3 separate regions of the Homo sapiens genome follow, and all the other regions are linked to region 1. Evidence: promoter capture Hi-C in 16 types of primary human blood cells and fetal thymus (Javierre and others, 2016). All regions are on one chromosome and are shown on one strand. The core of a region is centred on a gene start or on the middle of the fragment in contact, and the rest is flanking DNA. Distances in the headings are between cores, read along the strand shown.

Region 1 (3,989 bases), core at 654-3,153:
CCAATTACCGCTCTCTACCTAAACACAAACTCATTGTTTATTATGTTCCCTTGACCTGAGTTATAGTACATAGCTCAACAAATATTTGTTTAAATAAATGAAACAAAAATTGTCCACTACAAATTAACATACAGTTATTGAGCATTTATGTGACTGAAGAAATGTTGCTATAGAATCCGGGCCCAGGCTCTGAATTCACGGATCTGTCTGCAAATTCAGACTGCCACTTCCTTGCTCTGAATGAAGCTCCTAACTCACAGTTACTGTGAGAATTAAATGAGTTATACATGTAACTCAGAGCTGGGCCACAGGAAGCATTCGAGGAATGTTGGCTCTTACTATAGTAAAGCCTTTCAACGTGATCCACTGCCTTCACAAGAGGTCAGACTCTGTGGCTTACACGACCCTCATGATATGGCCCCTGCTAAGATCTTCAGTCCCCTTCCTTAACTCCAGACATCCTAATCTACTGGCTGGGCCTCCAACACTTCACATCCTCTGTTGGCACAAGTGTCTTCCACACTGTTCTTCTTCCCTGAGATTCCCTCCTCCCTCTGGTTAGCTCCTAATCACCTTCAGGACTCTAAACAGATGTCACCTCACCTCCTTTGAAGAAACCCTCCCTGACTGTCGGGGATGGAGGAGGTACTTGCTTGAGTGCCCAATACTGCCCTCTGCACAAGCCCATTCCATGCCATGCTCTGATACCTGTTGTCCTATCTCCAAGTGTGACCTCTCTCCTCCTAATCACCCCCCACAGAGTGGGAGAATCCTAGAGGGAAGGATCTGGCAAGGCCCTTACAGACCATCCAGTCAGCCTTCTCAACTAGACAGATGGAGAAACCAGGCCTGTGCAACAGTAATGGCCACTCTGGGCTTACGGTGTGCCAGGCACTGTCATACTAGTGATAACTAACTAGTAGCTGCCCTACTAGTTAGGTATTATCCTTAACCCATCTACCGGTAAGGAAGCTGGATCAGAGATGTCCTACATGAATTTCTGAGCAGTTTATGCCTCATTTCTTCTGTGAATTGTACACTGCCTGTGCCCGTTTTCCTACGTGAATGCTGTTTTAGTTACTGATCAGTAAGGTTTTGTGTATGTGTATACATCTAAGGTCCTCTGCCAGGCACGCTACTGCAAATAATTTTTTCTGGTTAGTTTAGTTTGGTCTAATAGTGTTGTTTTTGATACACAAGCTCTTAATATATATTTAGACAAATGTCCACCATTTCCTTGCTTTTAAGCTTGAAATGACTTCCATTATCTGAGATTTCCTTAACAAAGGAAAAAGCCTGGACCCCAAACTATCCCTTAACAAGCACAGGCTGACGCTCCCAGTGAGCCAGCCTGGTCCTAAACTCTATCTGCCACCATTTAACCCTCACGGCAACTTGCGAGGCGGCTGGTTATCACCGTGGTCGTTTTATGGTCGGGGAAGCTGAGGCCAGAGCCCGGGCAGGAGCGCACACAACCAGACGGTGGGGCGTGCGGGAGATCGGAGCGGTGTCCCTGCGGGGGCTCCGCCTGGCTCCTGGCGCTCCGCACCTCCCAGCCCTCGGCGTCCCGGCGCGCCACCACCCGGAAAAGAACGACCGCTTCCGCACTCCCCCCACCAGGGGCTGGGGCCTGCAAGGGGGACTCGAAGCCTCCCGCCGCCTCCCGCCCCTTGCCTGGCAGCGGAGGACCCAAGCAAGGGCAAAGAGTTCCAACCCAGCCAGAGCCGCACCTCTTGCAGCGACTCCGGCACCAGCGCGGGCACGATGGGCCGCTTCACGCCGCGCTGCTCCTTCTCCTTCTCGCCGCCCTTCTCCTTTCCGTTCTCCGTATCACCCTTCTCAGCCTGGGTCATTATGGCCGGAGACACCCACCAACCTCTCGCCTCAGCGCTGCAGCCACGACTGCCGGGATGGAAGGGCCACCGCGCAGGCGCACGGCCGGCTGCCCACAGTCAAGATGGCCGCCGCGGAGTCGCCCCAGAGGGCTCCGAAAAGGCGGGGGTGGGGCTGCCCGGCGCAGGGGCTGGGGGCGGGGTGTGCATGCGGATTGATTGGGTGGGTGTTGCTGTGATTAGTCCTGACTGTGTAGATGCCAGCAACATAGTACACATAGCTTTTCGAGCGCCTAGTGGGGGTCGGCTGATAACCCGCATCTTATTTCGTCCTCACAGGCATCTCTTCTCCTGGCTTCCCAGATACCATATGTACTCTTAGTTTTTCTCATATGTCTTCATGTTCAGTCCAGCCTCTGATGTTGGGGTTAGGTCTTTTCCAGGCACACTCCTTGGGTGACTATCCAGTTTCCTGGCTTTAGCAATGAATACGATTCCCAAATATATATATCCAGGATGAACCGCTCAGAGAGATCCGTACTGATAACCAGTGCCTACTTGGTCTCTCCATCTGGATTGTCTACAAGGCACTGCAAACTTAAATATGTCCAAAATTTAACTCTTGATTCCCTCCCCTCTCACTTTCACCATCTCAGTAAATGTCATTTTGATTCTTCACTTGTTGACAGCTTCTACATCCAATCCATCAGTAAATCCTGCAGTCTCTAAAATAGATCTTGAATTCATCCACTTCTCCATTCCCATGCCACTACCTAGCCCAAGCCACTATCATCTCACCTGGATGACTACAACAGCCTCTTAACTCGAACTCCTTGTCCTGTCCCCCTATGATCTGTTCTTATATAGTTGCCCACGTTGTTTTAAAATATTACGTAGTTAATACTACTATGTACCCAGCACTCCACTAAGACTTACCTCAAAAATTAGATGTCACTCATGCTTTAAACTCTAATGGTTTCCCTTTGCTCAAAGAACAGAATCTAAACTAACCACCACCTAAAGACCATATCTAGTTATTGCTACATTTCTAAGTTCACCTCACAACACTCTCCCCATTCCTTGGCATTTCCAGCTACACCTGTTTTATCTTTCTCAGACATGCCAAGCCCTTCCCGTCATCGGGCTGTTGCACTTGCTGTTCATTTTGCCTTGGATGCTCTTCCCTCAGCTGTCTCATTCTCACGTCTGAACTCAAATGTCACCTCAGGCCTTCCGCAGTTATTCTCTCATCATCCTATTCCCTTTGAAGCATGAAGCATTAGTCTGTAATTATCATGCCTGCTCACTGTCTCCCACACTAGAATGTAAGCTCCGTGAGACTTTGCCAGTTATCTTCAGCACATGGTAGGTGCCCAATAAGCATGTGATGACTAAATACTAAATAAAGAACTCTTGGAGGTAAAAATTTAATCCCCGTTTTACAGGTGAGTGAAGTGGGATAAAATGGCATAATTCACTCAAGATCATAAGCTATTGAGTAGCAAAGACAAGAGTTAAGCATAAAGTACTCAAGAACCTGTGTTTTACATTCTATCTGAAGTGCAAAGAAGAATACCTGAATGTCAAATGCAGCCAGAACTCTGGGATAAGACCCGAGGAACAAGTCCTGCAGCAGCAGTGCTAGGAGGCAGAAGAGGACCATGGTTCACATGCTCAGGAAGAGCCATCAGTAACAACAATCAACCACCTACTGAGACTCTGCCATGGTCTCCCCGCTATAGGGTAAGGTGGAGGTTTAATAATGCCTCTGCCATTCACTGGCAATACAATCTAGGAAGCTGCCAAACTTTACTGAACCCTTGCATGTATCTGTATAATGCAAATGTCATTATACATTTACCTCACTTTGTATATATGTATACATTATACATATCCCTCACTTTGTCAGAATTTAAAATGTGTAAAAATTTACAGGCTGGGCATTGTGGCTCACACGTGTAATCCCAGCGTTTAGGGAGGCCATAGTGGGAGATCACTTTAGCCCAAAAGGTCAAGGCTGCAGTGAGCAGCCACTGTACTCCAGCCTGGATAAGAGTGAGACCCTGTCTCAAAAATAAAAATAAAAAATAAAAATAAAATAAAAATTAAAAAATAAATAAAATCTGACACATAATTGAGGTGGCCAGCAAACTGTTA
Region 2 (3,989 bases), core at 1,004-3,503, 9.1 Mb before region 1:
AACAGATGTTTCTTGGTTTGCTGTTTGTCTTTGGGAACATTTCCAGAGGCTTTAATTTTCTTTTCTTTTCTTTCTTTCTTTTTTTTTTTTTTTTTTTTTGAGATGGAGTCTCACTCTGTCTCCCAGGCTGGAGTGCAGTGGCGTGATCTCGGCTCACTGCAAGCTCCGCCTCCTGGGTTCACGCCATTCTCCTGCCTCAGCCTCCTGGGTAGCTGGGACTACAGGCGCCTGCCACCATGCCTGGCTAATTTTTTGTATCTTTAGTAGAGACGGGGTTTCACCGTGTTAGCCAGGGTGGTCTCGATCTCCTGACCTCGTGATCCGCCCGCTTCGGCCTCCCAAAGTACTGGGATTACAGGTGTGAGCCACCGTGCCCGGCCAACTTTCTTTTTTTAAATTTCACCAGTTTCACTGGGGAGTGGGTCAGTGGAATTCCTCATAATGTCATGTCAGAAGTCAATCTCTGAACTCTTTTTTAACAGAATTATTCTGCCCGCTAGGTTGAGAAAAGATGAGAGTGGGGGAGAAAGAGAAGCAGAAAGACTATTGTAATAACACAATAAAGAGATATTGCTGGCTTGGTTCTACACTGTGGCAGTGGATTTGGCAAGAAGTTGTTGGATTGTGGGTATATTTTGAAATTAGAGCCAAAGCTTTGCTGAGATTGGATACGAAGAGTGAGAAAGAACAGGGTCAGGGATGACTATATGGTTTTTGGCCTAAGCAACTGGAAAGATGGAGTTAACGGAGATGTAGAAACACATTTGGGCTAGAGGTGGGGTGATCAGGAGCTCAATTTTGGACACATTAAATTTGATTCATTGCCCACTGCATATCCAGTTAGAGATATCAAATAGGTAATAAGTTGTAAGAGTGTGGAGCTCGGCTGGGCGTGGTGGCTCACGCCTGTAATCCCAGCACTTTGGGAGGCCGAGGCGGGTGGATCATGAGGTCAGGAGATGGAGACCATCCTGGCTAACAAAGTGAAACCCCGTCTCCACTAAAAATACAAAAAATTCTCAGGGCGTGGTGGCAGGCCCCTGTAGTCCCAGCTACTCCGGAGGCTGAGGCAGGAGAATGGCATGAGCCCGGGAGGTGGAGCTTGCAGTGAGCGGAGATTGCGCCACTGCACTCCAGCCTGGGCAACAGAGCGAGACTCCATCTCAAAAAAAAAAAAAAAAAAAAAGGAGTGTGGAGCTCAGGACAGCAGTCCAGGAAGGTTTAAATTTGTGAATCATCAATTTGTACCTAGTATTTAAAAACAGGCCAGGCATGGTGGCTCACTACTGTAATCCCAGCACTTTGGGAGGCCAACGCGGGCAGATCACAAAGTCAGGAGATCAAGACCATCCTGGCCAACATGGTGAAACACCGTCTCTACTAAAATACAAAAAATTAGCCAGGCGTGGTGGTGCACCCTGTAGTCCCAGCTACTTGGGAGGCTGAGGGCAGGGGAATTGCTTGAATCTGGGAGGTGGAGGTTGCAGTGAGCCAAGATCGTGGCACTGCACTCCAGCCTGGTGACAGAGCAAGACTCCGTCTCAAAAAAAAAAGAAAAGAAAAGAAAAAAAAAACCACTGATGCAAGATTTTTTGCTCCTTAGCTCAGCTAAAATCCAAGTTCGTGTTGCATGACCAGGAAAAATCAGGCACGCGGACACATCGAAAGATGAGGAGAGTGGAATTTATTAAAAGGAAGCTCTCAGTGAAAAAAAGTGTGATACACCAGCTGAAGAGGCCAGGCTTCTCCCCCTGCATAAGGTGCAAATTCCCAGTGGCTCCACTCCATTCTCCCAGGGCGCATGTGGGCCTTTAGTCTGAGCCACTCCACATTGATTTATTTTCCTTACTGCGCATGTGTTAAGGGACAGAATTTTTCAGTGACCCGGCAGGCGTTTGGCTGTCTCCTGTCTCTATCATTCCCCACTCTAAAGAAGTACATCTAACTGCCCTTAGAATAAAGATAAGGACAAAGACCAATCTTAACTGCTTCCTGCTGACAGGGGGTGCTGTGTTGGGAAAATGGCAGTCAGATTTCCCTAAGAGGCCAATCTAAAGGTTCCTGGCAAAAGGGACCATTATCTGAGGCTCCAGTTGCACGACTGGAGTTTGATGACCTGAAGGCGAGAAGAGACAAACTGAGTTATTAGAAAACATGTATCAAAACAAAACAAGGATGGGGTAAGGACAGAAGTCATGCCAGAAGTCATGCTCGAAAATCCCGAGGCCTTTTACTGGTTTGCACAGGGAGAGGGAGGCCAAAAGCCTGATTGTTAAAAGTTAAAAAAAATTTTTACCCTTTTGCTGGCTTGTCAGTCTTCGAGGTTCCCTTCCCCCAAGCCCAGTCCTAAGCTATTCTCAAGTTTAAGGTTTGGGAAATTAACTTTTCGCAGTTTAGAGGATGGATCCAAGGGGAGTGTGCTGTAGTAAGGAGACACAATTACCTATCTGTGAAGAGAGGACACAAGGGGAAAAGGAAAAAAGAAGGTGTTTTTTTCAAAGGAGTCCCAGGGGTTCAGGATGTATTCAAAAAGGCCACAGACTGAAGATGAATGGCAATCCATCAAGAAAGAGGGGAGCAGGTGTCCCTGGTTCCTTTCTCTTCCTAGTGAATACCCAGGGTAGGTGAGGGAGGGAGAAAGTGACGTGCCCCTTTTCATTTCTTCTGTCCTTATATCCCCAAGACCTGGGTGATCATCAAAGGGTGCCACCCATGAATGTCAAAGCGGCTTTCCCCCATGTTAACAGGGCTTACCCACGTACGCCCTATCTCCCCTGCTGTCAGTAGCCTTCAAGTTCTCTAGACCTCATTTATGTCGTGGATACTAGCATGATGTTTATCCATGAAACAGGAGGCTTGGCTTAATCGGCAGGAGTTAGTCATGCTCACCTGTGCTGTGCTTTTTAACTTCTGTTACCGTCTGCTTCTGGATCCCTCAGATCCAGTTTTTTTTTTCTTAGGGCTTTGACCTGAAGTTGGGAATTGAGTTTGGGACCAAAAATATGTCTCAGGGGTTGTATGGACTCCTTATCATAAGCTGAATGCTAAGGTGAAGCTGTGAAAGGGGTCCTCCTCCAAGGGAAAGAAAAGGATGCCCTGTGACACACCCAGATAACTGGTGGCTATAGTTATGTTTGCTAAGATTTGGGTGCATGGAGCTTGGCTTTGGTTAGCTCCCTTGGTCTTACTTTCCCAAAAAGGAAACCTCTGGATGACAGGCACTGTATTTATTCCCACCACCTAGCAGGATTTGCAGGATAATTGCTTAGAACTAGAATATTGATTCAGATTTTTACATTACCCATCCCCCTTTGTTCCTTCTGGGCTGTAGTTGGAGATCTCTGGTTGGATCACAGGCATAAGCAGGGTTAGTTTTTAAACGAACTAGGCAAAAAACTTGAAAACAACTAGTGGGTCTAGAATTTAATGATGATAAGTTTTTAAACATAATTTATCTCTCTCCAGTCCTCAGTTTTCTTAAAAACAAACCATGATAGGACTGAGTTGTTTGCAAAATAGACTTTGGTCTTATACTTGGCTTGATTCTTTGCATGAAGTGCAGCAAGAATACTTATTTTTACAGAGGGCTTTTAGATTGGCTTTGATGGAACTCTATTCCACAAGGAATCTCAGATAGGACTTTCTAAAGCTGAACCCAGCTGTGGGTTTTTACCCTCAAATACCTGTGAGTTGGGTAAACTCCTCTCTTCTTGAGGTCCCAAGAGCATAGGGTTCCTGGGCCTGTTAAAAAGTGACACTTCTTACTCACCGCAGATTAGGAACCCTGTACAGGGACTGTGTAGGCAAGGTATGAGGCCAGTTTTCCCAAGGAGCTTTTATCAGTTCTGCAAGTCAAGCTTGACTCCTTAAAAGGAAGCATACCCTTCCAGTCAAAGGCCTTGGTAAAACAACTAGTGTCTTCAGTTGTGTCCTGTTGCAAAGAAAATGGAATCTTATTGCACTGATGCAAACAAATATATTGTCATAAG
Region 3 (3,989 bases), core at 464-2,963, 8.9 Mb before region 1:
GCAATCTCTAGCACATCTAGAAAATATCATTTATAACATCAGCAATCTCATGTTATCTTATCACAACAGAGCTCCTCACATAAAACCCAGCCGTCCAACCACACACAAACACATCTAAGTGCCACAACAGGTGGGGCACCTGTGCCTTCATTAGGGAGGAAATCCTTCCGGCTTCACCTCTTTCAGTTTCCCTGGAAGGCAAAGTCCAACCCTGCAAGCTGTCTTCCTTTTAGGTGCCCCTGTGGAGAATTACGTAGAGACATAAGAAACATCTAATGTCCAGTCTACGAAGAACTGATCATCAATTTTGGAGCTCAGCAGTTTAATGCTTAAGAATGTGAGCAAGCACTTCCTCTCTATAACCTTATCAGACGACCTCCCAATCCCACTGTGCCCACTGATGCGACCATCATAGCTCTAACCACCATGATCTGTGGTTATGTTGGCCCTGGAGCCTTCATCTGCCCAGGGAACTTCTCTGGGCATAGTATGTTTTACTTGTCTTGTGTTCTAAAGGTAGCACAAAGCCTATCTATAGTAGGCTCCCAATAGTTATCTGAAACTGTATTTGAACCCACTATCTGATAAATACCATTTTTTTTTTTTTTTGGCTGAGGGTCCTCAAAAATGGAACATCAGGAAAGTCATCAGAATTGCTTTAACCTGCCCTCCTTGCTTCAACTAATTTGGGTTAACTTTCTCCCATTTATCCACACGGCTCCTTTAAAACTTGCACCATACTTTGTCAGCCCCGCCTTAATGAGTTCCTTTGGTGACCCCAGCTTCACCTTGCAGATATCCTCTCCGGGTATCCAATGCCCATACTCCCACTCGGCCATCGCAAGGGGTTGGGGTTGGCTTTTTTTCGGGCAACTGCTCACAGCTCCCAGTAATCACTTCCATCAAGCCGGGGTTTCCAGTTCCCGCTAGGAAGCGTTGGGGACGTCCGGGCACTGCGCACCTCGCCAGTGCCGGTTACCAAGCGCCTCCTCCCCCGTCTGTGGGACAACGCTCTGGTAAGCACCCGAGGCAAGAGGTCCCAGCAAGGTAATGGGACAGCGTTCGGTCACAGAGAGTGAGCGAGCCAGCGAGAGATATTCCTGGGTGGAGGGGTGGGGACGCCTTAGGACTAGTGTCCCCCATTCCCGGACCCTTCCCACCAAGAACTACCTAGGGAGGGCTGCATCGCCTCTCCAGCCATCCTAGGGACTAGAGAAATGGAGGGGAGAAGAGCAGGGAAACAGCACCCCCGGGCCAATCACGACGTCCGCCCCTCCTTAGTCGGGGTCTCTCTCTCTCTCTCTCTCTCTCTCACACACACACACACACACACACACACACACACGCTCCTAAGTCAACTCCAGCTCTGAGCAACTACGCCGCACGCCTCTCCCACTGGGAGTCCCCCGGCCCGTGAGGCTCGCCTCACCCCAGCTTCTTCACCCCTACCCCAGTTTCCCTTCCCAACTGACCGTGAAGCCGGAGGCAGTTCCCCAGTCCCAGACCCCGGTGGGGCTCCCGCCGCCGCCGCCGCTGCCTTCCCCTGCAGTCCCCAACCCGGGACCCGGCCTCGGGCTTCGGCGATGGCTCCTCGGAACGAGGCGCCGCGGCTCTCTGGACTCGGCCAGACACCGGGCGGCGCGCAGGAGAAGCCCATCGAGCTCTCCCGGCAGTGGCGGCGGCCGCGGCTGCAGGAGCGGCCGCCGCGCAGGTTGATGACGCGCTGACGCGGGGCGGGGGGGGGTGGGACGTGGGGGCGCGGTCCAGAGGAGGGGACGCGCGCAGATGACGTGCGGCTCGTGGGGCAGCTCGGCAGCATGGCGTCCGTGACGCTGAGCGAGGCGGAGAAGGTGTACATCGTGCATGGCGTCCAGGTAGCTACAGCAGCGGCGTTGGGTCGGCCGCCGGGTTCAGCCTGGCCCTGCGGGTCGCGGCCTGCCCTGGGTTTGCCAGTGAGGAGGCAGCCGAGCTGCGGCGACTCTCCGTTTACCTTGTGATTAAACGGTTCTGCTGCCGGCGTTTGCAATTCAGAGCTGGCAACGTGGACGTTTTTAGGACTGTTAGCGCATTTGCAGTTTTGCGGGTCTATAAGATTCCGAACCCGGGCAGGAAGCTTGGGCAGTCTCGGAGGCCTTTTCTTAGTGAGAGAGCATCGGCCCCAGGGCCATCCATTCGGCGTTCGCGCACAGATCTTGTCCGAGCCTCAGTTTTCTCTTCGAGGAAATGGGAGTTTGGAGGTGGGCTTCTGGCCTGCTTTTCCTCACCTCGTGGTTAGGAGGGCGCATGCGAGGTGAACGCACTTTGAAAATACAAATTGCCGTACAAATAAAGGGGGAAGGGTTTTTAAAAAGCGGCTAGGACGCCTGTAATCCCAGCACTTTGGGAGGCCGAGGCGGGCGGATCACGAGGTCAAGAGACCGTCCTGACCAACATGGTGAAACCCCGTCTCTGCTAAAAATACAAAAAAATTTAGCTGGGCGTGGTGGCGCACGCCTGTAGTCCCAGCTACTCGGGAGACTGAGGCAGGAGAATCGCTTGAACCCGGGAGGCGGAGGTTGCAGTGAGCCGAGTCTCAAAAAAAAAGCGGCTAGGCAGCCGATAGCCTAAGTGCTGTTTCCATTTTGCCAATGAAGAACTAAGATCCCTAGGCAGCTATAACCTAATGTCCTCTGTGTTCTATATTAAATCCCTGGTTATGACCACTCCAGAACGAGGGTTGAAAAATGTTGGACCTGGTAACGAGCTACCCTGTATCCTCCTCCGGCTGTGTCTCCACTTGTTAACCTACGGTGTGGTCCTCCTATCAGAGTTCTTCATCCCATCCTTGGCAGAGTTCTGGCGACAGCTCCTACCTCTTTTCCTCATGCCTTTCCTCTGTCAGTACCAACTGCAAAGTCAGTGGTCCCGTGATGTAGCCATCGGATTGAAGCGGCCAGCTATCATTGAAGTCCCACAACGTGAGTTAAGGACATGTCCATTTAAAAATCGTGACCTGCCGTTATCTTCTGGGCCCTTTATATATGAAGAAATGCCAATATTTAGCATATTATGCCTGGATAATAAAGTCAGAACTCACAGTTGCATATTTTAGTTATAATTCAGGATTAACAACAGTGGGACATATGTGTGTATTACAGGGTAACATGTATGTTATTTGTGTGTGAGGGGGCATAAAAATGCCCAAAAGCAGTTAGATATGTCTTTCCCTGCTATATTTTTGTATACACTTTGTTCAGGTGATTTTTATCCTCAAAGTATTTTTTTAGGGACACATTACGGATAACCGTTTTCCTCTAAATTTAAAAACCTTTGGTCTTCTTTGTTACCGGAGCTTACCATGATGTAGTGACTCTGTCATGTGTCCTATTTTCTCTCAACATTTCATCCCTGAAAGTGGCACTGAGGCATGGATATATCTGTAACCTCAAGGTTAGAGCTTTCTCCCCAGCACCCTTAATTCCCACGGCAGTTCATTAGCTATCCAGCAGCAGAGTCCCACCATGGTCATTAGTTAATTTTATTTACCAACATATATCTAGCTCCTGGCATGTTATGTGGGAAACAGCAGGGATGCCAAAACATGGTTGTGAAATAAATGAAAGATAGGAGGGAGACAAACAGAGAGTAAAAGTGAATAAAATAAAAACAAAGGTAATGTAAGATCTATGCCAAGGAAGTGGTATAGTTAGTGGAGGTTGAAGTTAAAGTATACCAGGGGCCGGGCATTGTGGCTCACGCCTGTAATCCCAGCACTTTGAAAGGCTGAGATGGGAGGATTGCTTGAGCCTAGGAGTTTGAGACCAGCTTGGGCAACACAGTGAGAGCCCATCTCTAAAGAAATAATTTTTTTTTAATAAATAAAAAGAATTCCAGGGACTTGTAATGCTCTGAAGGCTTCCCTAAGGAGGTGGAATTGCTCCCCTAAATCCATGTCAAGGATTCCTCCTCTGTATCTTCAGGACTCAGTATTCATTCATTCAACACAGAAC

Evidence for each region. Contacts are between HindIII fragments. The CHiCAGO score rates a contact against its expected background, and 5 or more counts as called.
Region 2: a fragment that was not itself captured here is called in contact with the fragment with the promoter of ACTR8 in region 1 in 1 of 17 cell types (non-activated CD4 T cells); the score reaches 10.6 in non-activated CD4 T cells.
Region 3: a contact is called between the fragment with the promoter of ZDHHC3 here and the fragment with the promoter of ACTR8 in region 1, in 1 of 17 cell types (total B cells). The highest score is 8.7, in total B cells.

The regions. Positions count from the first base shown.
Region 1 is chr3:53,880,249-53,884,237 of GRCh38, forward strand. ACTR8 (actin related protein 8) reads right to left here and starts at 1,904. Exons shown (of 13, transcript NM_022899.5): 1 at 1,731-1,904. The coding sequence starts at 1,853. RefSeq lists silencers at 1,531-1,640, 2,031-2,120 and an enhancer at 1,791-1,870. The HindIII fragment of the contact is 9,111 bases long and covers 1,247-3,989 here.
Region 2 is chr3:44,766,730-44,770,718 of GRCh38, forward strand. All of the region lies in intron 1 of KIF15 (kinesin family member 15), which reads left to right. Among named protein-coding and RNA genes, the nearest start is that of KIF15, 6.9 kb to the left of the region's middle. The HindIII fragment of the contact is 3,204 bases long and covers 652-3,855 here.
Region 3 is chr3:44,974,461-44,978,449 of GRCh38, forward strand. ZDHHC3 (zDHHC palmitoyltransferase 3) reads right to left here and starts at 1,714. Exons shown (of 7, transcript NM_001135179.2): 1 at 1,473-1,714. It overlaps EXOSC7 (exosome component 7), which reads left to right and starts at 1,784. Exons shown (of 8, transcript NM_015004.4): 1 at 1,784-1,874. The coding sequence starts at 1,818. RefSeq lists an enhancer at 694-1,238 and silencers at 1,461-1,560, 1,681-1,750. The HindIII fragment of the contact is 4,817 bases long and covers 1-2,111 here.